2 separate regions of the Homo sapiens genome follow, and region 1 is linked to region 2. The links are contacts of gene promoters, found by promoter capture Hi-C in blood cells and fetal thymus (Javierre and others, 2016). All regions are on one chromosome and are shown on one strand. Each heading gives the region's core, a stretch centred on a gene start or on the middle of the fragment in contact. The rest is flanking DNA. Distances are from core to core; before and after follow the strand shown.

The links. The method cuts DNA at HindIII sites, captures the fragments that hold promoters and counts their contacts. A CHiCAGO score of 5 or more calls a contact.
Region 1: the fragment with the promoter of OR2D2 here is called in contact with a fragment that was not itself captured in region 2 in 3 of 17 cell types (M2 macrophages, M1 macrophages and M0 macrophages); the score reaches 8.1 in M2 macrophages.

What each region holds. Positions count from the first base shown.
Region 1 is chr11:6,890,933-6,898,292 of GRCh38, forward strand. It overlaps OR2D2 (olfactory receptor family 2 subfamily D member 2), which reads right to left and starts at 1,568. Exons shown (of 1, transcript NM_003700.1): 1 at 642-1,568. The coding sequence starts at 1,568. The coding sequence ends at 642. It overlaps LOC107984019 (a long non-coding RNA gene), which reads right to left. Exons shown (of 4, transcript XR_001748112.3): 4 at 6,981-7,296. The HindIII fragment of the contact is 9,743 bases long and covers 425-7,360 here.
Region 2 is chr11:7,685,753-7,693,465 of GRCh38, forward strand. OVCH2 (ovochymase 2) reads right to left here. Exons shown (of 16, transcript NM_198185.7): 13 at 6,150-6,243; 14 at 5,517-5,648; 15 at 4,172-4,261; 16 at 3,685-3,850. The coding sequence ends at 4,203. LOC105376533 (a long non-coding RNA gene) reads left to right here. Exons shown (of 11, transcript XR_007062576.1): 3 at 5,526-5,740; 4 at 6,229-6,801. Among named protein-coding and RNA genes, the nearest start is that of CYB5R2, 16 kb to the left of the region's middle. RefSeq lists an enhancer at 5,262-6,461. The HindIII fragment of the contact is 1,796 bases long and covers 5,162-6,957 here.

The sequences.
Region 1 (7,360 bases), core at 318-2,817, 800 kb before region 2:
ATCTAATGTGCATTTTTTCTTCTTTTCAACTTTTATTTTAAAATCGAGGGTACACACGCAGGTTTGTTACAGAGGTATATCATGTGATGCTGAGATACGGAGTACAAATGAATCCATCACCCAGGTAGTGAGTAGGTAATAGGTAGTTTTTTTAACCCTTCCCCCTCCCTCCCATAATCTAGTAGTCCCCAATGTCTATTGTTCCCACCTTTGTCTTCATATGTACCCAATGTTTAGTTCCTACTTATGAGTGACAACATGAAGTATTTGGTTTTCTGTTTTTGTGCTAGTTCACTTAGGATAATGGTTTCAAGCTGCATCTATGTTTCTGCGAATGACATGATTTCATTCTATTCTGTGGCTGCATAGTATTCCATGGTGTATATGTACTTTTGTTTTCAAAGCAGGAGAAAGTTTATTAAAAAGCTTTAGAACAGTAAGGAAGGAAAAGGAAAGGAGGAAAAAGAAGGAAAGTACAACTTGGAAGGGGGCCAAGCAGGTGACTTGAGAAACCAAGTGTGCCAATGTACATTTTTAAAAATCCAATCCACCTGGGTTGATTCCATGTCTTCCCAGCAAGTCTTTGAAGTAGGAAGCCAAAAGGTTCTCTGAGCTCACTGTCAGTGTGAGATTCCAAGCCTTCATGGGAAATTCCTTGTGGCTACTTTCCTCAGAGCTGCCTTCACATCCTTGTTTCTCAGGCTATAGATGAGGGGATTAAGCATGGGAGTCACTATTGCATAGAAAACAGACACCGATTTTTCCTGCTGTTTGGAAGACTTGGGTGTCATGTAAGTGATAATTGCTGATCCATAAAAAAGTATGACCACCATGAGGTGGGAGCCACAGGTAGAAAATGCCTTGAGACTCCCCACAGTTGACTTCATCTTGACCACAGTTACTATGATACGGCCATAGGATACCAGAATCAGAAAAACAGGTATGAGGAGAATCACAACCCCCATAAGAAAAATGGCCATCTCTGATGCATGGGTGTCTGTGGATGCTAAGATCAATAGTGCAGGGGCCTCACAAAAGAAATGAGCAATGCTGTTACTGCCTCGGTAGGGTAGCCTCAGTATGAAGGTGGTGTCTACCACAGACACCAGAATGCCACTGGTCCATGATCCTGTTGCCAGCTGGACACACACTTTCCAGGTCATGATGTTAGGGTAACGCAGAGGATTGCAGATTGCAACATAGCGATCATAGGACATCACTGCAAGAAGGGCGCACTGGGTACACCCAAAAATGAGGAAAAAGAGAAGTCGAGCTGCGCAAAGTGTGAATGCAATGACCTTCTTTCTGGAAAGCAGGTGGACTAGTGCCTGAGGAACTATGTTGGTAGAGAAACAGAGGTCAGCCAGAGACAAGTTGCAGAGAAAAAAATACATGGGTGTGTGAAGTTGGGAGTCAACATGAACAAGGGAGATTAGAAGCAGATTTCCAAGCACAGTGACCAGGTAGACACCCAATAATACGATAAATAGCAGCTGCTCGGTGTGTGGCCCATCAGAGAGTCCCAGAAGGAGGAATTCTGTCACTTGTGTCTGATTTATCTGTCTCATAGTTTGTTGTCCTTTTCAGTAAGAAGTCACTATGTGCTAACCATAGACAGGCATACCTATAAAATTATATAATTCAGAAGTGCAGGCTTAGGAACTGCCCCAATTTCTACTGAAAATTTCAAGAACCCCCTTCATAAGATGATCATGTTTCTTTCATTGGAACATTTTCAGTGTTGTAAAACAAACTTTAAAAGATGTTGCATTCATTGTTGATGTCATCTGGCAAGAATAGATTTTTAAAATTATTTTTCTCACTCTGAATACCACACTTTTAATAATACAATATTAAATACAGACTGAGTTCATCTATAAAGTCCTGCCATTTAATTTCTGTTTGTTCTTAACTAAAACCCCTGAGTCGTAAGTGCTCTTGTCACATCTCCTCTTCCCCGCTTATGATAATATAGTTTTCTGTTGTATTTTCCGTGAAAGGACAGACACGAAGGTATAAGAAATCAGAAAGAGCCAAAGTACTGGTATGTTTTATTTAAGAAACTAACCTGTCTTACAGGAGCTGGGAAACCAAAGATTAACTCAGGATACCCTTGGGAATCCTATCTGAAGCCTCAGCTTGAGTTCTGTTCAGTCTCAACTGTGAATGAACTTCCAACATAACAGACACACCATCAAAACAGAATTTTCATTTTAAGCCACCAGCGTGACTAGTTTCATACTCAGCCCAAACAGCACTACTCCCCAGCTCTCTCTGCTAAAAATTATATGCATTATCTGTCCACTCCCCCCGCAAAAGTAAAAGTTCCTTTGAAAATAGTTTCCATGTCTTTTTCACCTCTGTGTCCTTTACGAGTCATAGCAGAGAACTTCATTTCATAAATGACCATAATTCATTAAACAAATAATAATTTGATCACATAGTTAAGCAGAGTCATTTAGAAGTTTTGCCAATATCCCTAGAGAGATTTGAAATAATAATCCAATTTTGTGGAGCTGTTCCAAAAAGAAGGGAAATAAATTTACTTTAAAGTGTAAAGTTTAAGATCCTATACACGGGTTGGGCTATCAATCCTTTAACTGTCTGGTGAAAGTATCTCAGAATAACGTTTTAAATACATCAAATAAAATGTATAGGATTACTAAGGAAACCAGTTATATCAAAATACAGTTATCGAAATAATTTTAGAAAACAGATTTGTAAACAGCAATATATGTGCTTCTTTATTAATACACTAAAATTTTGAAATGTAGTGGTGGGTCTAATAACCATCTTCATTTCAAAATAATGATGAGTTTAAATATTTGGAGATCTCTCCAACAACTGCAATACAATATAAAAATTCTTATAATTACTACTGCTGACAAAGTCATAAATACTTCTAATATTGGTGTGGGTTGGTTACTTGCATTCAAATTGGAAGGAAACATCAACTTTCAGTTAGGGGAAAATAAAAATAAAGAAGTAACATTTTACTCCAAGTTGCAGAACTCACTTGGGTTACAGGAATCCCCAGGAGATTTCTTAAAAAAAAAAAAAAGACATAATTACACCCTACATAATCTAGTAACAGAGTCTCAGCATCTGGATTGGTCTGTGAGTCAAAGAAATGAAAGATTTCAATTCCTAATTGGTCTTCAGACTAAAGTTGGAATTTGGCATTGGGAGGAAGGTCCCTTTGCACTTCTACTTAACTGTTTGGTGCTTTAGATTTTTAGCATTGCTCCCTGCTCACTTTGCAGGCAGAAGGCCTTAAGCAAACAGCTCAGTCCAACATGCATCACCTGTATGACAAAATCCAATTTATAACCCTTCCACCTTTGCCCACTACTGGTAAGCCATGGACTCTACACTCCTTTCCTCACTTCCTGGGATTTCTCCTGCAACATCTTTTCTCCAGACAGGAATGTAGCTGTCCTGGGCCAAAGTTACCACTAACAACCAATCTGGGAAAAGTTTGACCTAATTTCTTTTCTCTTCTCCACTTTTATTTTAACCACCAGAGGAAGAAGCCTGAAAACAATTTCACCTTACTGTTTTACTTTACAATGTACAGATTAATTACTTAAAAGGTTCTTTTTTAACTCAAAATACAGATTATTCTTTATGTTATTCTCCTCTTTTACACATCTAGGAAAATCTGTCAAAACAAAAACAGTCTCATATCAAATCATATAAATGTAATGGTTACACAATATTACCATTATATCAGGTAAATGGAGGTGTGGATGTTGATTCAATGGTAAAATAAAAACCAGTGCCACCAAACTCTAAAATCTTTGAAAGGATAAAAGCCTCTTACCTAATCCTTAAAAGGAACTCTATATTCCTCCTCAGTTTTGAAGATAAGTTACTTAATTTTAACATTTTGTTTGCTTAATTGTATTTTAAATATACATCAAATATATATTTTTCAGAACAAAAGAAAAAAATTAATAAATTGGACATCATCAAAATTAAAAATGTTTGTGCTTCAAAAGACACCATTAAGGAAGTGAAAAGACAACCCACAGAGTGGGAGAAAATTTTTGCAAATTCTGTATCTGATAAGGGACTTATATTTAGAATATATAAGAAACATAACCTGGTAATAAAAAGGCCAATAATATAATTAATAACTGGGCAAAGAATCTAAATAGACATTGTTTCCAGAAGAGGTATGCAAATGGCCAGTAGGCACATGAAAATATGTTGAATGTCATTAGCCATAAAGGAAATGCAAACCAAAACCACAATAGCATACAACTTTACACCTACTAGGATGGCTAGCAGGTTACCATATGAATCAGCCATCCCACCAGTAGGTATATACCCAAGAGAACTGAAAGCATATGTTGCACACAAAAACTTATACATGAATGTTTATGGCAACATTATTCATAATACTCAAAAAGTGCAGTGATCCAAAGACAAAAAGTGAAATGTCTTTGAATATATAAAGAAAAGGTGATATATCAGCTGGGTGTGGTGGCTCACGCCTGTAATCCCAGTACATTGAGAGACTAAGGCAGGTGTATCACTTAAGGTCAGGAGTTCGAGGCCAGCCTGGCCAATGTGGTGAAACCCCGTCTCTACTAAAAATACAAAAATTAGCTGGGCATCATGGCACATGCCTATAGTCCCAAATAGTTGGGAGGCTGAGGCAGAAGAATCATTTGAACAGGGTAGGCAGAGGTTGCAGTGAGCTGAGATCACTCCACTGCACTTCAGTCCATGTGAGAGAGAGAGACCCCACCTCAAAAACAAACAAACAAACAAACAAACAAACAAAACGGTGATATATCCATATAAAGGATTGAACATGGTACAACATGAATAAACCTTAAAAACATTATATTAAGTGAAAAAAGTAGTCACAAAGGATGACATATTGCATGATTTCATTTATATTAAATGTCAAGAACAGGCAAATCTATAGAGAAAGAAAGTAGATTGGTTGTTGCCTAGGGCTGGGGTTATAGGAGGACTGGATGATGATGACTAAGGAATGTATGGTTTCTTTTTGGAGTAACGAAAAACTTCTAAAATTGATTGTGGTGATGGTTGCATAACTTTGTGAATATTCTAAAAGCCATTGAATTATACACTTTAAATGGTAAGTTGTGTGGTGTGTCCAACATGCATCGCCCAAATGTATGGTAATAGTAAGTCTCTTTCCAAACACCCTCAAGCCCAATACCCTTTCCATTAGTAACCATAGATCACAGGTTGGTATACATCTTTCCAGATGTCTATTAATTCAAATTAATACACACACACAACACACAAACACAAATGCATATGTGTATGTACATGAGTATGCACACTTTTGTAGTTAACATATGATTTAATGACTTAATTTTCCCAACAATCGCTATTATCTTGGAGACACTTCTTGACCAATATATATAGCTATACCTATGTCTTGCTATTGATTTCATTATATTCCACACTACAGTTTAACTACAGTTAAACTACAGTTAAACCAAAACTTAGTTAACTATTCTCTTATTGATGAACATTAATATTGGGGCCAATTTATGCTACCACAAACAATTATGTTATGAACATTCCTATACATATATTGTTTTTCACTGTTACCAATATATCTGTTAAGGTAAACTACAAACATTCGAATTGCTAGGTACGAGCTTTATCCAAGATGGAATATATAAGGGTAGGCATATCTTTACTTTTGATAGATGCTGCCAATATCTAAAAACTGTAGTGCCTAGCAGTTATAGAAGTGCCTACCTTTATTTCAAGGGAAATCAACTCATTCAATAACTGATAAATAAAACATAATTATGAATAATTACATCTCTGCTTGATGATTACTTACGGCCCCACACTGAATATAGATAAATTCCACCCTCCCGTATCCATCTGCAGGCAACCTTACCAGCCTTATCCCATACCAACTAACTAGAACACACTGCATTTTTACACCCCACTGTTTTTTGCTCCGCATAGTCCCTCTACTCAAAGACATGCCCACTAAATCAAGGTATCATTACTTTCCTTGGGCACCCATCATACTTTGAATATTCAATCAATCTTATTTTTTGAGCAAATACTGTGTACCAAGCATATGCTAAAGACTGGGGATACAGACTGAAAACCCAGTTCCTAACACTAAAGAACTCCAGAGGGGAGGGGCCAAATTGTTTCATCCCCAGTGCCTACAGTGGTCCTTGGAATATCATAGATTCACAGCCAATATTGGTTTAAGGAATCTATATAATCTATCACATCAAACTAATAGAGAATTGCTTCTAAAGAGAAAAATAGTGTATTATCAAAACAGCTGATATAAAAATAAATTTCGAGAATACAGGTAATTTAAACATTGCTACATTTTGAATTGCCGTCCATCTGGTGGAAGGTGCTACCTGGTTAGTTCTTAGAGGCTCCGGGATTTGGTTCAGCTCAGGATCTTTAGACTCAGTACTCTTTCTGCCACAATTTTCACTCTTCTTAGAGTAGAATTTTTTTTTTTTTTTAGAATTTGATTACAACTGTATCAATAATGTATCTAAATCTCAAGGAAAATTAAATGATAGACAAACAATCTTTCTCAGTTTTGACAAAAGAAGATATTGAGCATAAAACTAAGCATTCTTCACAAAATTTAAAGTGATGACTACAATCAGTGGTTAATTTAATGAAAGTGAAGTTACAGGATATTGCTATGATTTCTATCCCTTCTTCATCTGGCTCATAACCATAGCCAGACGAATTTTTTAAGATTCTGTCTAGGAAAAATATACTCCAGAAACAATCCCACAAACTTTCCCTATTCCTACCTCCAATACACACGGACATACACACACCAATACACACACTCACAAACAACTAATCTATCTTAGATGCACAAGTATACCTACAGCATCTTGTACTTACCTCCATCACAGCTCTTAACAAATTATATTAAAATTATTTGTCTTTCTCTGTGACTGTAAGATAGTCAAGGGTAGAGATCACATCTGAATCATCTTTATTCACAGAAAATAAGAGCAGTCATCATACATTATAAGTGTCCAACACATGTTTCTTGAACTGATTTGACCTGAGCCAAAGTAGCAAGAGACAGAGAGGGGAATGTAAGGAAGAGATGAGTGTGATTTATGACTTGTCAGATGCTAGGAGTTCTCACTGACCCTGGGATTATGCACTAGAAGGCAGCACGCCAATCTCTCCTGATTTTTCTTTAAAAATGTTATTCTCCCATGCAAATGTAGAGGACGAAATGTTCCTCCAGGTGACATTGAATCTGCTCCCAGGGTCAAGAAGCTCCTATAAGAAAATCATGTTCACTGTCAACCTTTCTGCCATTTCATTTTACTTTTTTTCTAGATTT
Region 2 (7,713 bases), core at 4,810-7,309:
AAGGCAAGGGCACATCTCTACCTTCTCTTGTACCTATCTAGCTCAGCTAGGCATGTCACAGGTGTTCAGTAATTACTTGTTGATTACTTCTTTACTTTCCAGAACTGTTTTTCAGATTATACTCAGTGTGGATGAAGAAGGAAAACCCCAGGTATCTTGCTGGATTCTAGTGTTTTAGGAGCGGAAAACAGATCCAAAGGCCAGGTTGTCATTGAAAAAAAAAATTCTCTGGCTTGAACTGAATTTGAAATCTACCTGCTAACAGGATTTTTCAGATAGAGCTCAACTGTGGATCCTCTTTGTGTGGCTGAATCAGTCTTATATTCAGATTTATCATTTGTATATTGGAGATACTTACACCGAATATACCCACCTGAGAGGTAGCACAGCACTGTGCCGAACTCTGGTAGAAGGTTGCTGAGGTATGAAGTCCTGCTCCACCAGTTTACAAATGATCTGGCTGGGGACTATTACTGAACATTTCCAGGTCTTGGTTTCTCCATCTTTAAAATGGGTATGATGATGACGATGATTCTTACCTCTTAGGGTCATAAGATGATTTTATGAGTTAATTCATATGCAACGTTTAGAATGAAGCCCAGCATATAATGGATTGTACATTAATGCTATTATCAATCTTACATAAGTTTTGATTTAAAAATGAGTGTAGAGTACCCATAACAGTAATTATCGCTTAATGTATGTTAGCTGCCATTCTCTCATGATGAACAAGCAAGTACTACCTATTTTAAATTATTAAAAACGACAGACATTTGTTGTTAAATACACATTTTTAAAATTATTAAAAACAACAGAGAAAAAGAAGCACTCATTCTCATTCTCACAAATTAATTTGTCTATACTGAGCCTGATCCCAATCTATAAAGAATCTGCAGGAAGAAAGGAAATCAAAATCCTGAAACTAAGAAAGGAGAGCCCTTTCCCTTACTTCGTATCAGAGAGTAGAACATTTCTGAAAATTCACAGAAAGCTTTTTTTAGAACAGACCATTCAATTCTGAAAAGAAAGTTCTTAAAATTGTCTATAGTGTATCCCTGAGCATCCTGAAGATTTTAAATAAGTTGTCACAGCAGCTTCACCCAGAGGCTGTTTCATCAAACCACAAAGTGACACTCCCAGCCCCCAAGTGTCCTGTGGAGAGCAGAAAGATGGCAGCTGGAGAGCTCACCCAGCAGGAATCGTTGCCCGCATCTGCTGCACTCCTTAGAATTCCTGGAGAGAAACATACCATACTCCTGGCATGCTTCTGATGCAAAGGTGGGGATTCTAAGCTGCTATAGTTTTTTGGACTTCTTTCTACCTTAAAGGCAAGGAATCTCTGTTGTTAAGTTCATAAAGATCCACCCCCGGACCCCAACCCCGCAAAAAAAAAGAATATATTTTCAGGGGATATATTTCAGGGCATGTTATTCATACAGATGAAAAGAAAGGTGATTCCACCATGTAGCTTAAAAGGTATGTGATATTTCTGCGCAAATTGTCAAAAAAATATGATGTTACCCAAAACATTATTTATAAGAAGTGATGGCTGTGGAAATAATAATAATAATAATAATAATAATAATAATAAAGCCTAAGACATAATTTTGAGAAAATTGAAGGCTAAGGCTGAGAAATAAATTCTTACTGGGATTATGCTAGTGTATCGGAACTGCTTCTATGACTCTATGACTCCTGAAGCCTGAGAGCTTCAGGCAACAGAGGCCAGAGGCTCAGAACAACACTTGGGGACCTTTCTTTATGAAAGTGAAATCTACCTCCAGGGAGCCTCTTTCTCACCTCCCATTCACTCTCTATCTTTAGCAATCAGACTGTGGAATTCTGACTCACTGAGGTTACCTACAACATCCCAGTGGCCAAATCCAAAGGCCTCTTTTCCCATTGTTATGTTACTAGATTCTGTCCAGCATTTTTCATCATTGACACCTCTTTCCCCTGTCTTTGCTTGGGCTGATATAACAAATATACCATTGACTGGGTGATTTAAACAAGAAATTTATTTCACAAAGTTCTGGAGACTGCCAAGTCCAAGATCAGGGTATTGGCAGATCCAGTGTCTGGTGAGGGCCCCCTTCCTGGTTTGCAGATGTCTGTCTTCTTGTTTTATCCTCACAAAGGGGAGAGTAGAAAGAGAGGAAGCAAGCTCTTGTGCGTCTCTTCTTATAAAGGTACTAATCCCATCGATGAGGGCTCCACCCTCAGAACCTAATTATCTCCCCAAGGACCCACTCCAAATATCATCACAATGGAGATTAAGCTTCAACACATGAATTTGGTGGGAGCGCAAACATTCAGTCCACAGCAAAACCTAATCTCTCTCTCCACAGCTCCCATGTCTGTCCTGGTTCTCCTCCTCCCCTTATGCCTGGCTCCTTTCAGCCTTTTTCTTTGGTCTTCCCTTTTCTCTTTTTCCTCTAAAAATAGGCTTCTTTTGGGTTGCAACTCTCACCTTTATCTGCTACCTCCCAGACCACCCCATCCCAGGCTTGATTCTTAATTCCTGGACATCTGCAGCTGGATATCCCACAGGTAAATTGACAGGCACACATTAAATTCATCTTCAACCTCTCACACCCTCCTCAAATGTGCTACTGCTATGATATTCTCTTTTTTGGTCTTTGGAAATATTGTGCTTGGCAATGGCTTTGCTGAATGTACCCCCTGGTGGCCGAGAGAAGGAATCACTGCAGCCACACTTTACAAAAATTTTTCCACCCGGGGCTTCTTTGCATCATGAGGTCATTGTCAAAGAAGCCAGAACAAAGAGACCCCAACTGCTTTCATCCCTTCTTATGAAAATGAATTTTCATTCCCGACTCTCTCTATTATTCTGTGTCCTATGTGTCCGAAAATTTATAAAAATAAAAATAAAAAATAAAGGATTTGACTTTTCTCCTGATAAATCAAAATGGCAAAATGGCAAACTATAAAAGTTTCCCCACCTCATCTTCTGCCTGCTCTCCTCACCACTGTATTTTCCACATGGAACAAGATGTCACTTATATATGCCAATGGATGTCATGGACAAACAAGGAACAGGGAAAGCCCAGAACTTCTCAATGCTCATTGGCACTAGAACATAGTAGTATACTTGCTATTTTTCAGAGGTGGGATCTTGTGAATGAGACCACAATTTGGCACAGAAAGTAGTCATTGCCACTGAATTATTCACTCGAGATGAGAATTTATTCTGGTGACTGGAAATATTCCAGTGTTGCTTTGAGCAAAAGGAACAGTGACCACATCCCATGAAGCTCCATGTGATGGCTTTTTTGATATGTCAGCTTAGCTAGGTGACAATCCACAGTTATTAAATCAGACACTAATCTAATTGTTGCTGTAAAGAAATTTTGCAGCAGTAATTAAAATTCCTAATCATTTGACTCTAGGTAAAGAAGATCATCTTGAATAATCTGGGTGAACCTGACTTGATTAGTTTGAAGGCCCTTAAAAGCAGGGCTGAGGCTTCCCCAAAAGAGAGAAGAAATTCTGCCTGTGAGGAACAACTTCAGCCCATGCTGTGGATTCCGGTGTTTCTATGATTTTCCCTTTCTGAGCACCTGGCCTGTAGATTTACCTGCTTAGTCAGCCCCCACAATTGTGTAAGCCAATTCTGGTGTATCCGTTTGCTAGGGTTGCCATGACAAAGTACCACAAACTAGGTGGCTTAGAACAACAGAAATTTATTGTCTCATAGTTCTGGAGGCTAGAAGTCCAAGATCAACGTGTCAGCAGGGATGGCTCTGTCTGAGGGCTGTGACGAGGAGTCTGCCCCAAGCCTCTCCTCTAGCTTCTGGTGGTTTACTGACAGTCACTGGTGCCCCTTGGCCTGTAGATAATGTATTGCCCCAACCTCTGCCTTCATCATTACACGATATTCTCCCTGTGTGTGTATGTCTCTCTGCTTCCAATTTTCTCCTTTTAATAAGGACACTAGTCATACTGGATTAGGGCCCAGGCTAATAACCTCATTTTAACTGATTAACTCTGTAACAACCCTATCTCTAAATAAGGTCACATTCTGGGGTACTGGAGGTTAGGACTCTAGTATATTTTGGAGGAAGATGGAATTAAATCCATATCACCTGCTTCTCCGGTTGAACCCTGGATTATACTCTGTGTGTATCAATTGGTCCCCAAAACAGCTTACCAGAAACATTGGTTTCTCCATTTGGCACATCTCATGTCTCCAGAAACATTGATTCATCCTCTGATATGGAGATGTTTAAATCTGGGTATACTGGGTATAAGTATGATACAATTACTCAGTTTCCACAAAGACAGCCAGGGTTGGAGATTTATCAGAAAATGATTTATGAAGCTATTGTTAGAATTCTGGGGCACCTCAGCCAGCTAGACTCTATAGGTATTTCAAATGAGGAGTGGGGCATTTTAACTATAACCTGGCTTTGCCATCTGCAGCTGCTTAATACCTAAAAAGAATGAACAACTTGGAAAGCAGATAATTGGCTTTGTGGGGTTTGGAAAGAAGAATCATGGGTATGAGAATGTGTAAGGAAGCTGGTTAGGTAGTTCGAATGTCCAGGGCCTGGAACTGGTGAAGATATTTCATGTTTCTATGTCTCTGTTATGTACTGCACACTTGCTTGTGGCCAAGTGTATCTTATCTGATTTAATCCTCACTACATTCTTATTAGGGATGCATTGTTTTCCCTTAGTAGGGTTGAAAAAAATGAGTCTGAGGTGACTCTTAAGATTACACATCTAGTAATGATTGGCCATCAGGATTCAGACATACAGTCACTCGTTCTTTGTGAACTCCCTATACGTGAATTCACCTACTCACTAAAAATTATTTATAGCTCCAAAAGTGATACTCATGTTGTCCTCAGGATCATTCATAGGCATGTGAAGAGTGACAAAAAATACATGTTGTTAGACACACGTTTCCACACGAGGTAAAACAAGGCAATATTTTGCCTTCTTGCTTCAGCCGTCATCCTATAAACAAATGTCCTTTTCATGGTCTATTTAGTGGCACTTTTTTTTCATTTCTGTTCTTTTTATTGGTGACCTCAACCTTTAAAATGGCCCCAAGCATAGTGCTGAAGTGCCGTCTAGTGTTCCTAAGTGCAAAACTCTGTGGTGTGCCTCACATAGAAAACACACGTGTTAGATAAGCTTTGTTCAGACATGAGTCATAGTGCTGTTGGCCATGAATTTAATGGCCGTGAATTCATTGTAATGAACCAGCAATATATATTAAATAACATATCTTTAAACAGAAACACACATAAAACAAGTTTATGTACTGATCAGCTGATGAAAATGTACCTTGAAGGCACCTAACCTTGTACATTTCCTAGGAGGGATGGCTGAGTATTCTCTTATTCAGTGTCCATGGTGACTTGATAGGATGTAATTACTGCAGATAGTGAGAATCGACTGTCTCTGTGTTGGGCTCTAAAGACCTCTAATTCACATCACAAGGATTAGAACTGGGAACCAAAGAGTTGGTAACTCTATCTTCTTACCTGCTTTAGGAATGAAGGAGACTGTAGCCTGAAAGCCCCTGCAGGTCCCGTTTTCATCTGATTGGAAGCTGATGAGCATGATGCTGGAGGGGCTCAGCACAGGGGTGGGGACATCATAGCCACACAGCCGAGCTTGTTGAAGGCCAGCCCAGGCATGACATTGTCAAGCACCCAGCAGATAGCCATGGCATTGGAGAGAAGAAAAAAAGAAAATCATCCTTCAGGTAATTGTTGAGAAATACGCTTTTCACAATTCATTTTCTAAATAAAGGCAGCTCACTCCTTAATTAACCCCATGACATTTCAATTTGGTTTTCTCTCCTGAACACTCCCACACACAATGATGTTAAGGGAACTGGTTCTAGCCTCAGGACTTGTTTCAATGGAACTTTCCCTTTCTGACTCCTAGTTTCCTCATGGGCCTTTTGCATTTCTGTTTCAGTGGTTCTTTGATTCTCCCTTTTTCTCTTCCTGCCCCTAATGAAGAAGACAAAGGAGTGATGGTGAGACCACAGGGAGGGGTGGAGGTGGTGCAGGAAGATGGAGGAAGATTGATCTGTCTCCTTTTCGTTCCCATCTCAAGACTGGGTCCAAACACAAACCAGAGCGAGCTGAGGCTCAGAGGACACAAACCTATTTCCTTCTTCCTTTCTACATCGCTGTGCACTGTCACATAGTCGGAAGTGCAGTCTCCACTTTCTTCTATTTCCAGACTCTGAAATGAAAGCTGAGAAGACACGAAGTTACATCCAGAGTAAACAATCTGAATGAATTACCTGACTTTGATTCAGCAGAGAAATTTGGATTGCTCAACTTGTTCTGGAGTAAGACCTTAGATAAGAAAGTTAATGGGGTATTCAGGAGTGGGTCAGATTACCAAGGGAAGGATTCTATATCACAGGCTCTAACTTTTTGAAATAGCTACCAAATATGGCCTGAATCAAAGGGCAGGAAACTGTGCAAATATTTTAGCTTCCTAACATCTCTAAGAGATTAGGAGAGCTACCGCATGGGGATTTTTTTCCTTGGAAGCAACTAGGCACTCAACTCAACTAATTGCATATACACAAAACTGCTTCTCTGGACATCTTAGTGTTGTTCACCTGGTTCCTGATGTTTCATCTTGAACCTCTAGTTCTCCTGAATCAAGACTGAAATTTGTTGTGCCCCTTGGAGACCGTGTCTTTCTACCCAGCGGGATATAGCTGGCTCCTCTTCTCACCTGCTTTGTCCTGTTGCCACTATATTTCCATGCCTCACTGCAAAATTCTGAGAAGGCACAGATGTAAGTGAGTCTAATTGCTGATATAAAACAAAGTATCATCTGAGCTACTGAAAGCATTTGCATAAGTGGGCTCGGAGTCAAATGTAGTGAGCCTCATGAATGTGCATGAAAAAGGAAATCCTTGTATGAGTTAGAGAGAGCTGATTTTGGATACTAAGCTTAAATGTAAACCTCAGCAAAATTCTTGAGTAGATTATTAAGCTATGATGAGTAATGACCTAGAAAAGAAAGTTGATCACCTGGAATCAACCTAGGGTCACCAAGAATAAATCATGACAAACCTTTTCTCATAGTTTCTATAATTGTGATGCTTATTGGCAGCATAATATTTCATTTATCTCTATCCTTGAGACCTGTATTTTTTGCTATCTTAAAAACTTGGCAGTGAATATCTTTAGGCATTTACTTTTTTTCTTCTCTTGTATCATTCCCTGCATGGGGCACTTGTTTTGTTTCAGGAAAAGGGAGGGGAACTATCTAGATAGAAGGAACAGTGTGAAGGAGAAACAAAGAAACAATAAAGAGTGATCTTGGAGCAGTTTGGTGAGCACTAGCCAATTGAATTTGAAGTGAAGAGTGGTGGGAGAGAGGGCTGATGAAATAGGAACTCTAATTTTAACACACAGTTGATGGGGATTCAATGGGACCCAGACTCTGAGCAAGAAACAGAAAGGATTGTGTGGATAAAACAAAACTGGAGGCAAATAATTACTAATGGTAAAGGTAGGCGTGGGGAGGGGGACCTGTATCAGAAATAGGATTCATTCAAACATTTATTAAACCCTTACTGGGATACTTTCTGGGAAGGGGCCCTTTTCTCTCCAAGTCAAATGGTGAGCATATTCCTATGACTTTTAACACCAGTTTCCAAATTACTATCTTACACGAGTTCTGCAAAATGATGCTGTCACT